Regions from separate parts of the Homo sapiens genome. Here region 1 is linked to region 2. Evidence: promoter capture Hi-C in human tissues and cell types (Jung and others, 2019). All regions are on one chromosome and are shown on one strand. The core of a region is centred on a gene start or on the middle of the fragment in contact, and the rest is flanking DNA. Distances in the headings are between cores, read along the strand shown.

The links. Contacts are between HindIII fragments. The study calls those that stand out against the background at their distance.
Region 1: a fragment that was not itself captured here is called in contact with the fragment with the promoter of RAMP2 in region 2 in 2 of the 25 tissues and cell types used here (heart left ventricle and hippocampus).

What each region holds. Positions count from the first base shown.
Region 1 is chr17:42,486,299-42,492,487 of GRCh38, reverse strand. It overlaps ATP6V0A1 (ATPase H+ transporting V0 subunit a1), which reads right to left. Exons shown (of 22, transcript NM_001130021.3): 10 at 5,121-5,333; 11 at 1,851-2,001. Among named protein-coding and RNA genes, the nearest start is that of MIR548AT, 5.4 kb to the left of the region's middle. The HindIII fragment of the contact is 3,999 bases long and covers 1-3,553 here.
Region 2 is chr17:42,759,345-42,765,198 of GRCh38, reverse strand. It overlaps RAMP2 (receptor activity modifying protein 2), which reads right to left and starts at 3,972. Exons shown (of 4, transcript NM_005854.3): 1 at 3,841-3,972; 2 at 3,300-3,365; 3 at 2,736-2,844; 4 at 2,158-2,602. The coding sequence starts at 3,937. The coding sequence ends at 2,347. RAMP2-AS1 (RAMP2 antisense RNA 1) reads left to right here and starts at 3,942. Exons shown (of 6, transcript NR_024462.1): 1 at 3,942-4,319; 2 at 4,488-4,564; 3 at 4,686-4,773; 4 at 5,319-5,460. RefSeq lists a silencer at 3,769-3,858. The HindIII fragment of the contact is 24,962 bases long and covers 1-5,854 here.

The sequences.
Region 1 (6,189 bases), core at 305-2,804, 270 kb after region 2:
TGATCCACCTGCCTCGGCCTCCCAAAGTGCTGGGATTACAGGCGTGAGCCACCACACCTGGCCCAGCCGATGAACTCTTAAAGGAACGCTACCTGACAGTAAACCTGCCCCTTACATTAAATGGGCATCTTTTTGTTGTTGCCCAAGCTGGAGTGCAGTGGCATGATGTCGGTTCACTGCAACCTTTGCCTCCTGGGTTCAAGTGATTCTCAGGCCTCAGCCTCCCGAGTAGCTGGGACTACAGGTGCATGCCACCAAATCCGGCTAATTTTTGTATTTTTAGTAGAGGCAGGGTTTCACCATGTTGGCCAGGCTGGTCTCAAACTCCTGACCTCATGTGATCCACATGCCTCAGCCTCCCAAAGTGCTGGGATTACAGGCGTGAGCCACCATGCCCTGCCAGAATGAGCACCTCTTCACAGGGAGTACACAAGATCTGAGGTGTCAACATGTTTATTTATTTTTTAATAGAGATGGGGTCTCACTATGTTGCCCAGGCTGATCTTGAAATCCTGGGCTTAAGCAATCCTCCTACCTCGGCCTCTAAAAGTGCTAGGATTGGCTGGGCGCAGTGGCTCACGCCACCCAGCACTTTGTAATCCCAGCACTTTGGGAGGCCAAGGCGGGTGGATCATGAGGTCAGGAGATCGAGACCATCCTGGCTAACACAGTGAAACCCTGTCTCTACTAAAAATACAAAAAAATGGCCGGGCGCAGTGGCTCACGTCTGTAATCCCAGCACTTGGGGAGGCAGAGGCAGGCAGATCACCTGAAGTCAGGAGTTAGAGATCAGCCTGGGCAACATGGTGAAACCCCGTCTCGACTAAAAATACAAAATTAGCCGGGCGTGATGGCACATGCCTATAATCCCAGCTACTCGGGAGGCTGAGGCAGGAGAATCGCTTGAACCTGGGAGGCAGAGGATGTGGTGAGCTGAGATCGTGCCATTGCACTCCAGCCTGGGCAACGAGAGTAAATCTCTGTCTCACCTAAAAAAAATAAAAAAAAAATTAGCCGGGCATGGTGGCGGGTGCCTGTAGTCCCAGCTATTCGGGAGGCTGAGGCAGAAGAATGGCGTGAACCTGGGAGGCAGAGCTTGCGGTGAGCCAAGATCACGCCACTGCACTCCAGCATGGGTGACACAGCGAGACTCCGTCTCAAAAAAAATTAAAAATAAAATTAAATTAAAAAAACAGTGCTAGGATTAACATCTTTAATTTTAATTCAGTTATTCAACAGCATTTAAAGTGAGGCATTAGAAGAAACAATGAACAAAAAGGCCAGGCATAGTGGGTCACACCTGTAATCCCAGCACTTTGGGAGGCTGAAGCAGGAGGCTTCCTTGAGCCCAGGAGTCCAAGACTAGCTTGGGCAACATAACAAGACCCCGTCTCTAAAAAAAATTAAAAATTATCAGCCTGGGCAACATAGCAAAACCCATCTCTAAAAAAATTTTAAAAATTAGCCAGGCATGGTGACACATGCCTGTAGTCCCAGCTACTCCAGAGGTTCAGGCGGGAGAATCACTTGAGCCCACGAGGTTGAGGCTGCTGTAAGCCGTGATTTCACCATTGCACTACAGCCTAGGCAACAGAATGAGACCCAGTCAAAAAAAAATCATAAAATAAAAAATTAGCCAGGTGTGGTGCTGTGCGCCTGTGGTCCTAGCTATACAGGAGACTGAGTTGGGAGGATCTCTTGAGGCCAGGAGTTTGAGGCTGCAGTGAACTACAGTCGTGCTGCTGCACTCCAGCCTGGGTGACAGAGGGAGACTCTGTCTCAAAACAAACCAAACCAACCAAACAAACAAAAAAAACTCTAGAGGAAAAAGATAACAAGCTTTTTTTTACCTGGATTTATCTCTCGGTAAGTTCCAATTCCATAAGCATCTACTATGTTCTGAAAGCCATAGGTAAACTTGTTGGTTTTGTTATAGGTTGGGGGAGTCTGGTTTGTCTGCATCCTGTTCAAAATGGAAGGTACAGTGGAACCACTGTGTTCCTGAAAAACATTAGCACATTTATCAAACTTAGGTTATCCTCCTAATTGTGGTAGTGGTTACACAGGTGTACATTTCTTGAAACTCATCAAATGGTACACATAAAATGTATGTATTTTCTTTCATGTAAATTATATCTCAATAAAACTAATAAACCTAAAAATAAAACTAGATTATCTTTCCCAGCTTTTGGGAAAACTGGGAAAAGGTATAACATTTATAATGGAAGATTTCTATTAGATCCTCTGAAATACATCCTTAATGTGAAAAAAATTTAACTTTAAAATATGTCACCAAAGAAAATGTGGAACTGCCTCCATATCTGCCTTTTTATGAAAGTTGTTCTCCCCCTTTCATGGAGAAAGCAAAGTATGTTCTCTGGCTCTCCTTCTTCACTACCTTCTCTTAACTTCCTGATCCCTTGCAGTCTGGCTGAGCATGCTTAGGCAAAGTGACTGGCTCCTGACCAAAGAGCTTCTCTCCCCCATGCACGCCCCTGACATTGGAGATCTTTGGTGAAAATCCTTCTTCCTTAGGAGTTCTCCTCCTGCTCGCTGACCATTGCTTTTCTATCTTTGCTGGTTATTTCTGCTCTGCCTATCTCATAGCATTGCAAGACCCCAACCTTTTTTTTCTCTCTATGACCTCCCTCTTGGAGGTCTCATTCCCTTCCATTCTCATGACTCCCATTTCCTTAGCTTTGTTCCCTTGTCTGCTTGACATTTCCACATAGACCTCAATGTGCCCGGAACTGAACTTACCATCTCTCCCCAATCAATAAGCTTCTCTGGCTGAACATTTACTTCCCTCATTGGAACCCTAATTCTCCTGGCCAGTCAGCTTTGATGCCTCAAAAAGATGTTTAAATCTTTCTCCTTGTATTTCTCCTGCACCTTGCTAGGAACCAGGTAGCCCTATTGATTTTTCCTGCAGAACATCTCACAATTCATCATTTTTTTTCCCATTGTCAAGTCCTACCTGGGGATCCTTATCATTTACTACTCTATGTCTACAATAACCTCCTAACTGAACCCCTACCTACAGAATCTCTTCACTCCTCAATCCAACCTAGATACTATCAGCAGATTACTCTTTTAAAACTGCTTTGAGCCAGGAGAAGTGGCTCATGCCTGTAATCCCTGCACTTTGGGAGGCTGAGGCGGGTGGATCACCTGAGGTCAGGAGTTCGACACCAGCTTGGTCAACGTGATGAAACCCCGTCTCCACTAAAAATACAAAAAATTAGCTGGGTGTGGTGGCGCACACCTGTAATCCCAGCTACTCAGGAGGCTGAGGCAGGAGAATCACTTGAAGCAGGGAGGTGGAGGGTGGAGGTTGCAGTGAGCCGAGATCATGCCACTGCACTCCAGCCTGGGCAACAAGAGCAAAACTCCATCTCAAAAAAAAAAAAACCAAAAAACAAAAAAACTGCTTTGATCCACCAGGCGTGGTGACCCACTTTTTTTTTTTTTTTGAGACAGAGTCTCACTCTGCTGTCCAGGCTGGAGTGCAGTGGCATGATCTCAGCTCACTGCAACCTCTGCCTCCTGGGTTCAAGTGGTTCTCCTGCCTCAGCCTCCTGAGTAGCTGGGATCACAGGCACCCACCACCATACCTGGCTAACTTTTTTGTATTTTTAGTAGAGACGGGGTTTTGTCATGTTGGCCAGGCTGGTCTCAAACTCCTGACCTCAAGTGATGACCCGCCTCAACCTCCCAAAGTGCTGGATTACAAGAGTGAGTCACCACGCCTGGCCCCAACACTTTGGAAGGCCAAGGAAGGCAGATCACTCGAGCCCAGGAATTTGAGATCAGCCTGGGCAACATGGCAAAACCCTGTCTCTACAAAAAATTAGCCACGCATGATGGTGGGCACCTGTAGTCCCAGCTACCGGGAGTCTGAAGTGGGAGGATTGCTTAAGCCCAGGAGTTGGAAGCTGAAGTGAGCTGAGATGGCACCACTGCACTCCAGCCTGGGTAACAGAGCAAGATCTTGTCTCAAACACAAAATTAAAAATGTAAAAAACCACCCAAACTGCTTTGATCATGTTCCTTTACCCCTAAAGAACTTCCAATGTCTCTCAACTTCCTCTGGAATAAAATTTAAATCTTCTAAGCTATTATTTAAGAACCTTTCACAATTAAGTTCCAAACTACCTGATGCAGACAGGTACTTCTCTTCAGCTAACCCACTGTAAATCCTGTTCTTGTCCAAACATACATGGTCTAACCATACTTCCTGCCTTTGTTTTCTTCTCTTCATTCAGCAGTCTTACCAACAACTTATCATTCTTCAAAGACCTGATCAAATGCCACCTGCTTAAAGCTTTTTCCAACTCCATAGTTGGAACTCTCCTAATAAACTGTAAGATACTCGAGGGCATGTTTTATACATCTCTGTACTCCTCCAGGCACTTACAGCACTTCTGTGGACAGAGTAGTTGTTCTAATTAACTACTAAACAGAAACAGTCATATACAGAGAGGGCATCAGGAAACTGATGCCCTGGCCATGAACAACCCTGAAGAATCATGGGCATATGACCAAATTATTTCAGCTCTCTGAACTGCAGTCTCCACATATGCAAAATAAAGATATGCTATGCTACGCTATGATATACATATTATATGCCAGGCTATGTATGAAATGTGCTGTCAAGTTAAAAGACAAATAAATATATTGAAGAACTCTGAAGGTGAAATGCCATAAAAATGACATTAATGTTACTATTTATTTATTTTTTATTATTATTTTTTTTTTTTGAGACAGAGTCTCGCTCTGTTGCCCAGGCTGGAATGCAGTGGCGCAATCTCAGCTCACTGCAAGCTCCGCCTCCCAGGTTCACTTGATTCTTCTGCCTCAGTCTCCAGAGTAGCTGGGACTACAGGCGCCTGCCAACACGCCCGGCTAATTTTTTGTATTTTTTAGTAGAGACGGGGTTTCACCGTGTTAGCCAGGATGGTCTCGATCTCTTGACCTCATGATCTGCCCGCCTCGGCCTCCCAAAGTTCTGGGATTACAGGCATGAGCCACCGCGCCCGGCCAAAAATGACATTAATGTTACTATTGATGGGAACCTCTCTTCCGGGCCACGAGCTGCATTGTTAGCTTTGGGGACTCACCGTGCCCCTTCTGAGTGCAAACTGGATGGAGTCAAGGTCGGTGACAGGGCACCAGACCTCTGCAATCAAGCATTTCTGAGTCACATCTATGTTGCACAGGTTCAGGGTGTGATAGATGGCCTTCATCTTCCGCACTTTGATGAACCAGACACGGATGTTCTTAGCAGCTGCCTGCAGAACCCTCTGGCGGTGATCCTCCGTTTGATTCAGAACCTTTGGGGAGAAAAGGAACAAGCGAGGGATCCTTTTAACACCAGTTTTAGATCTCAGGGTATGAATGGCAAAGAGGCATAGCTTTCTGAAAAGAGTTGCCAGGGAATTGTCTTTTTCTTCCTCTGGCTAGAATGGTTTCTTTTTTCCAAATTACAAGAAATTAGAGTTCTAGTTACTAACATTCACTTTTATTTAGCTTCAACCTAAAAAGAAACCTGAGAAAATAGTTTAGCTTTTCTATATATGTTCAATCTTACCACCAATCCAAGGCACAACAAATGTAGGTCACTGCCTTTAACTTGGCTTATTAAAGAGCAACGACTTTCTATGTGGGGAATGTAACTCAGTAGGCATCACAAGCCCAGGAGCTGACAAATTAACAAATCCACACAGAATCCTTTGCACATGGGCCAGCATCAGGAGAGGGTGGAAAGAGGCAGTGCTGAATACCACCACCAGCCTACACTGGGAACATGGGCCAGGAGACGCCATGGGATCAGGAGCACCTGTGATCTTTACAGGGGGCTTGGACTGCCACATACCACTGCCATCATGAGGGCAGCTAAGGTGTTACCTTTATGTCAGGCTTCTCATCAGAGGAAAAAATGGTTCAGTGTTGATCCTTTTGAAATCAGTACAGATTTCCCTCAGAGGAATTACAGTGCCAAGACTAAGGTGGGAGGAAGGTACAGGAACATTTTACATTCCACTGGCTTAATACCAAATATTTAATTTTTTTTTTTTGAGATGGAGTCTCGCTCTGTGGCCCAGGCTGGAGTGCAGTGGCGTGGTCTCAGCTCACCACAACCTCCACCTCCCGGGTTCAAACGATTCTCCCGCCTCAGCCTCCTGAGTA
Region 2 (5,854 bases), core at 2,723-5,222:
CCTTTAGGGAAGACAGATGCATTCATGGAAATTAAGGAAACCTGTATTTCAGGTGAAAACTCAAAATATATATACTTTTTTTTGAGACAGAATCTCGCTCTGTCACCCAGGCTGGAGTGCAATGGAGCGATCTTTGGCCCACTGCAACCTCTGCCTCCCAGGTTCAAGCAATTCTCCTATCTCAGCCTCCTAAGTAGTGGGACTACAAACACACACCCCAACGCCTGGCTAATTTTTGTATTTTTAATAGAGACGGGTTTCACCATATTGGTTAGGCTGGTCTCGAATTCCTGACTTCAGGTGATCCACCAGCCTTGGCATCCCAAAGTGCTGGGATTACAGGTGTCAGCCACCGCGCCCGGTCAGAAAACTCAAAATATTTTTAGGGAACATATGTGTGCCTAGAAAAACAGATGCACCCTGAGAGATGTGTGTCTCAGAGAATGAATAGGCATGTTCCAGGAATCATACAAGCATATATGGAAAAGGCAGGATACCCCAAGAAATGGACATGCATGTACTCAAGAAGGCAGATATTTCAACAAGAAGGAAAGTCCCTAAAGAGGCTCGGGGTGCCACAAGGAGTAAACAGATGTATCCATGGAGAATAAAGTTGTTTTGGAGATATTTTTGGAGACCTGGCAGTTGTGTCTGATGGAGAGTTGAAGGTGTAGGTTACCTGGTAAGAAATGGGCCTCACTATCCAGGGAACATATAGGTGTGTTCATATACAGCAATGGTGACTTGTAGAGAGGGGCTGGGTATGATCCTAGAAAGTAGGAAGGTATCTGAAGAGAGTGTTGTTTGTCTCAGGAAGCTGATAGCGGGGTCCAGCTAAGAACTAGTGGTTGTGCAGGCACAGCAGGCTCATGCTTGTAATCCCAGCACTTTGGGAGACTGACTGGGGAGGAGCACTTGAGGCCAGGAGTTCAAGACTAGCCTGGGCAACACGGTGAGACCCCATCTGTATAAAAAAACTTAAAAAAAAAATTAGGCCGGGTGTGGTGGCTCGTGCCTGTAATCCCAGCACTTTGGGAGGCCGAGGTGGGTGGATCATGAGGTCAGGAGATCGAGATCATCCTGGATAACACAGTGAAACCCTGTCTCTACCAAAAATACAAAAAATTAGCCGGGCGTGGTGGCGAGCACCTGTAGTCCCAACTACTCTGGAGGCTGAGGCAGGAGAATGGCATGAACCAGGAGGCAGAGTTTGCAGTTAGCCGAGAGCATGCCACTGCCCTCCAGCCTGGGTGACGGAGCAAGACTCCATCTCAAAAAAAAAAAAAAAAAAAAAAAATTAGCTGGGCATGGTGGCTCACGCCTGTGGTCCCAGCTACTTGGAAGTCTGAGATGGGAGGATCCTTGAGCCCAGGAGGTCGAGGCTGCAGTGAGCCATGTTTGTGCCACTGAACTCCAGCCTGGGTGACAGAATGAGACCTTGTTTCAACAAACAAACAAACAAACAAACAAACAAGGAACTAGTGATTGCTGTAGAGATGGCAGTTTTCTGACCCCAGGGTCCAGTGCTCCTCAGCCTTGAGCTTCTTCCAGATCAGATACGTCTTCTGGTTGCTGGCTTTAGTGGACACCAGGGGGCAGTGTGTTGCTAGGCTGCAGGCCACACCCAGTCCAGGACAATGTAGGATGAGGGCAAGGGACATGGAGAGGGGTGGTGAACCTAGTAAAGGAAGCCCCCACTGCTTTCTCCCTCAATTGTGAGGGCCTTAGGAATGGATTCCTGTTGCTCAGTCAGGGTTCCTCTTCCCAGGCCCTGTGAGTAAACTGAAGCATGAAGAAGAGGAATAGTCAGGGCTCCTGGGCAGCCTCCTGCTCCTCTTGCAGGAGTCACAAGCAGAGATTCCTCCCTTGCCCCTTCCCCCACACCTCCCCAGTTGCAGGCCCCCAGCTGCTGTCCAGACCGGAAGGGAGTCTCTTCCTGCTTGTTTCCTGGAGCCGAGTTTGGATATAGGCAGGAAAGGCCCGCCTGGGAGGAAAGAATATAGGGGTGTGACCTTCATGGAGGCAGGGAGCAGGGGGGCAGGTGAAATGAACAGAACAATGGGCCATCCAGATTTTTCCAGTTCTACTACCCAGGGCTGAGGGCCTGTGGCAGTGGCAGGGAAGGACACAGGTTCCACTGAAATGGGGAGAAGGACATTGTACAAAAAAAAAGTTTTATTTTGAAGATTACAGAACTTGTGCCATGACCCCACCTGGCTTCCATTCCCAGCAATCCAGGGATCTGTGGTGGGGATGAGAGTGAGAAAAGGGAGTAGGAGGGGAGGAGGGAGGCCTGGTGGGGGTGGGGAAGTGGAGTAACATGGTTGTTGAGAAGCTCGTGGCCCCCTAGGCCTGGGCCTCACTGTCTTTACTCCTCCATACTACAAGAGTGATGAGGAAGGGGATGAGGCAGATGGGGGCTATGATCATGGCCAGGAGTACATCCTCTGGGGGGTCAGAGAAGGTGGGCTGCACCAGGGAGCAGTTGGCAAAGTGGATCTGGTGAGTCTCAAAGATGATCCTCTCTGCCAAGGGATTGGGGAAGCCCAGGTCAAACAACTCTGCAAAGTGCTCCAGGCAATCTCGCAGGGTGCTATAAGGCCTAGGGGCAGAAGAGGACTTGAGTGAGAGAGGGGGTGGACCCAGGGAGAAGAGTGCCCCACTCTCACTCAGGGTCTACCTGCAATGAGCAGGTCCACCCCCTGGCCTGAGCCACCCTCCATCACTGCCCCTACCTGCTAATCATGGCCCAGTCGCACCAATCCTTTTCGATAGGATCCATTTGATCCTTATAATGATTCCAGCAAAATTGGACAGCTGTCTCATAGTTCTTCACCGTCCCCCCTGTAGGTACAGATGCTACACAATGACCACACCCCTACCCCTCCCTACAAACCCTCCTGCCCAGGTGCTTGCAAGGTGAACTGCCTGTCTTCAAACGTGGGAACCCTTCAGAAAGTTTCCCTAGCAAAACATTCTGGCTGAGGACAGAGTCCCAGCTCAGGAATCCTATAATGACTTCCATGTGCTAAGCACTTTCCATCCCAGCCTGATAAGAACTTCCACGTACACCTTTTCCTGGGGTCTTCTCGCCCACTTGTGAGGTGGGCAGCTCAGAGCCGTGCAGGGGCTTTGTAGGAGGACAGGGAGAAAGACCACGAGGAACCCCAAGAAAGAACAGAGGGGAGTGTAGTGGGGCATCAGCTGGGGTTGGGCAGGCCTCGTGGGAAAGGAACCCTCCCCACTGAACTTGCTCTCGTCCTTACCCTCGGCCACCCTTCCACACCCTGGGTACCCACCTTCTGACCCTGGTGTGCCTGTGGTGGGAAGAGGCTGAGCCAGGGCCTCGTGGGGATTCAGGACAGCTGTGGGAAGAAACGGGAGAGGAGGGTAACATAGCGGGGACCCCGGCAGTGGAGCCTGCGAGGGGGGTTGGGGGACTGAGACCCTCCGAAAATAGGCTACCTTGGAAGAAAAGGAGGAATAATCTAGCCCCCACGGACGCCTCAGTGCCGGGGAGGGAGGGGCTGGCACCAGCTCCTTGTCACTCACACCCAGGCCCAAAGCCCCCTCATCTCTGGCCAGCTTCCGTCCTCCTAAGCCCTCTTCGAGGGGCCGGGGCCAGCACCCCAGCTTTCCCTGGGTGGGAAGCAGCTCATGCTGCGCCCGCCCCGAGGTGGGGTCAGGGACCGTCCGAGGGCCAGTGCTGCTAGGTACGTCGGTCCTAACCCGCACCCCAGGGCCCGTTCCGGCCTCGGCCATCCAGCCCCTCTCCCCTCTCCCCTCTCCCCTCCGGGGCCTCTCGCGCCTCCCGCCCGGGCCTCGGGGCGCCGCGCTCACCGCCCAGCAGGAGGAGGAGGCGGAGCGCTGCCGGCCGCCCGACTCGGGTCCTAGGGAGACGCGGGCCGCCGGCGCGCTCCACCCGGAGCGAGGCCATCGTGCAGCAAGGAGGCGAGGAGCGGCGGCGGCGCTGAGCCGGGCCCGGGTGTGGGGGCGCCTATATCCCCAGCCCAAGCTGCAGGAAGCCGCGCCGCTTCCTCGGAGGGGCTGGGACGGCGGCGGCCACGTGGGGGGCGGGGGCGACGCTCGGGGCCCGCGGCTGGAGGGGGAGTCGCTGCCTCACCCGCGCCTGGCGCCCGCGGCTCCCTCCGCCTCGCCGGCGTTGGCCCACCCTCTCGTAGCTCACCCCGCGAGGCTGGACAGCTCCCGGAACCCCGGAACCGGGATCTATTTCGGGGGCTCGGCTGCGTGGCGCCCAGGACTCTCCAGGGTCTCCCAGGATCGCTCCCCGAATTCGAGTCGCCCCCTCTCTCTTTCGGGTCTGGAGGGGTCGGCAAGCTGCTCTCCCAGACGTGGAGAAGAGGGAGGGGGCTGGGAGCTCCAGCGGCCTCTCGACGCCGCTGCTTCTAAGGGGCTGTCCTGGGTTGTGGGGGAAGGGGCGCCTGGAGCTGAGCCATGCAGCTCAGGGTTCCTTATCCTATCCCTAGGAATACCAGCTGATGTCAGTCCGCCAGCCAAAACCAGGGAGGAGAAGCGGGAGCCAGCCCTCTGGAGTCGGGAGAAGGTCTGGGGAGTGGGGTAGAGGGGAAAGCAAAGTCCAAATACCTTCCCTTCAGACACCTCCTGGGGCCTAGACCCCACAAACCTGTTGTGGGGAGGGCAAAATACGATGACTACGTTCCCAGGAAGAAGGTGCCACAGCTCTTCAGGACCACGGTTGGGAGAAAGAATGGAGGGGTTTTAGAACCTTCAGTGTGCGACTTCATGTGCCAGGTGAGTGTAACACCATTTTACAGACCGAGAAGCTAAAGCTCAGGGCCAACAGCCCGGGATTTGAATTCAGAAGCTCTGGGTTCTAATTCTGTCTTCTTACTCCCCAGCTATAGAGCCTTGAATGACACGTTTACCTTCAGGACTTCTCATGTGAAATAGGGACATTCCCCTCCTCACTGTATGATGGCAGCTGTGAAAGGGCACTGCACTCGCTAAATGCTAGTTTCCTTTCCTCTTTTCCTAAGTGACTTATCTAAGGTCACACTGTTAAGGAAGCAGCAAGGCTGAGTCTGGGCCTCCGGGGGTCCTGACTTCAGCCACACCACAGCTGCTTCTTGTGTCCTGGGCCAGAGGTTCATTAGTCTGAAGCAGCTGAGGAGCCCAGGAGCTGGTTTGGCCATGACGTTCAAGTCCCAGACACAGCTGTCAGCACCAAACTTTCCTAAATTACTCCCAGACACTGACCCTTGGACTCAGCTGCTGCTGTTGTCCCAGTTTACTGATTCCTGCCCACCACAAATTATCTGTCCTGATCTCTCCTGAAGTCTTCATCTCAGGATCTCAAGCTCTTGGATCATGGGCACGGATAACCTGTTGTCCTCCTCTATGGTCAAGAGGCTGCTTTTGCAAAGAATCCAGTGGGAGAGAGTCAATGGCCTGCTTGACGTGAACTCCAAAGTCCTCCTGGTAAGGATCATTTCTACAATGATGCAGAAAAGAGCCATGCAGTCTCTGAGACATTTCAGGCTGGGACCAAATCTAGTCCTTCCTGCCTGCCTAGGATTGCTCCTTTCAAGAAGGAAGCATGGGAGATTTCTGAGTGATAAGATGGGAGGAAGGAGCAAGGAGGTGCAGAAAGCAAAACAAGCCATTTTCACTGGGTTGGGGCCAGAAGCACATGAGCCCACTATGGGTTAGGACTGGGGTTGGGGTCAAGATTAAAGGGGACAAAAGCAAATGTTAGATTTAAAATAGAGCCTGGGCAACATAGTGAAACCCTGTCTCTACAAAAAAAAAACTATAAAAAAATTTTTAAAAAATTAGCCTGGCATAGTGGTGTGCACCTGTAGTCCCAGCTACT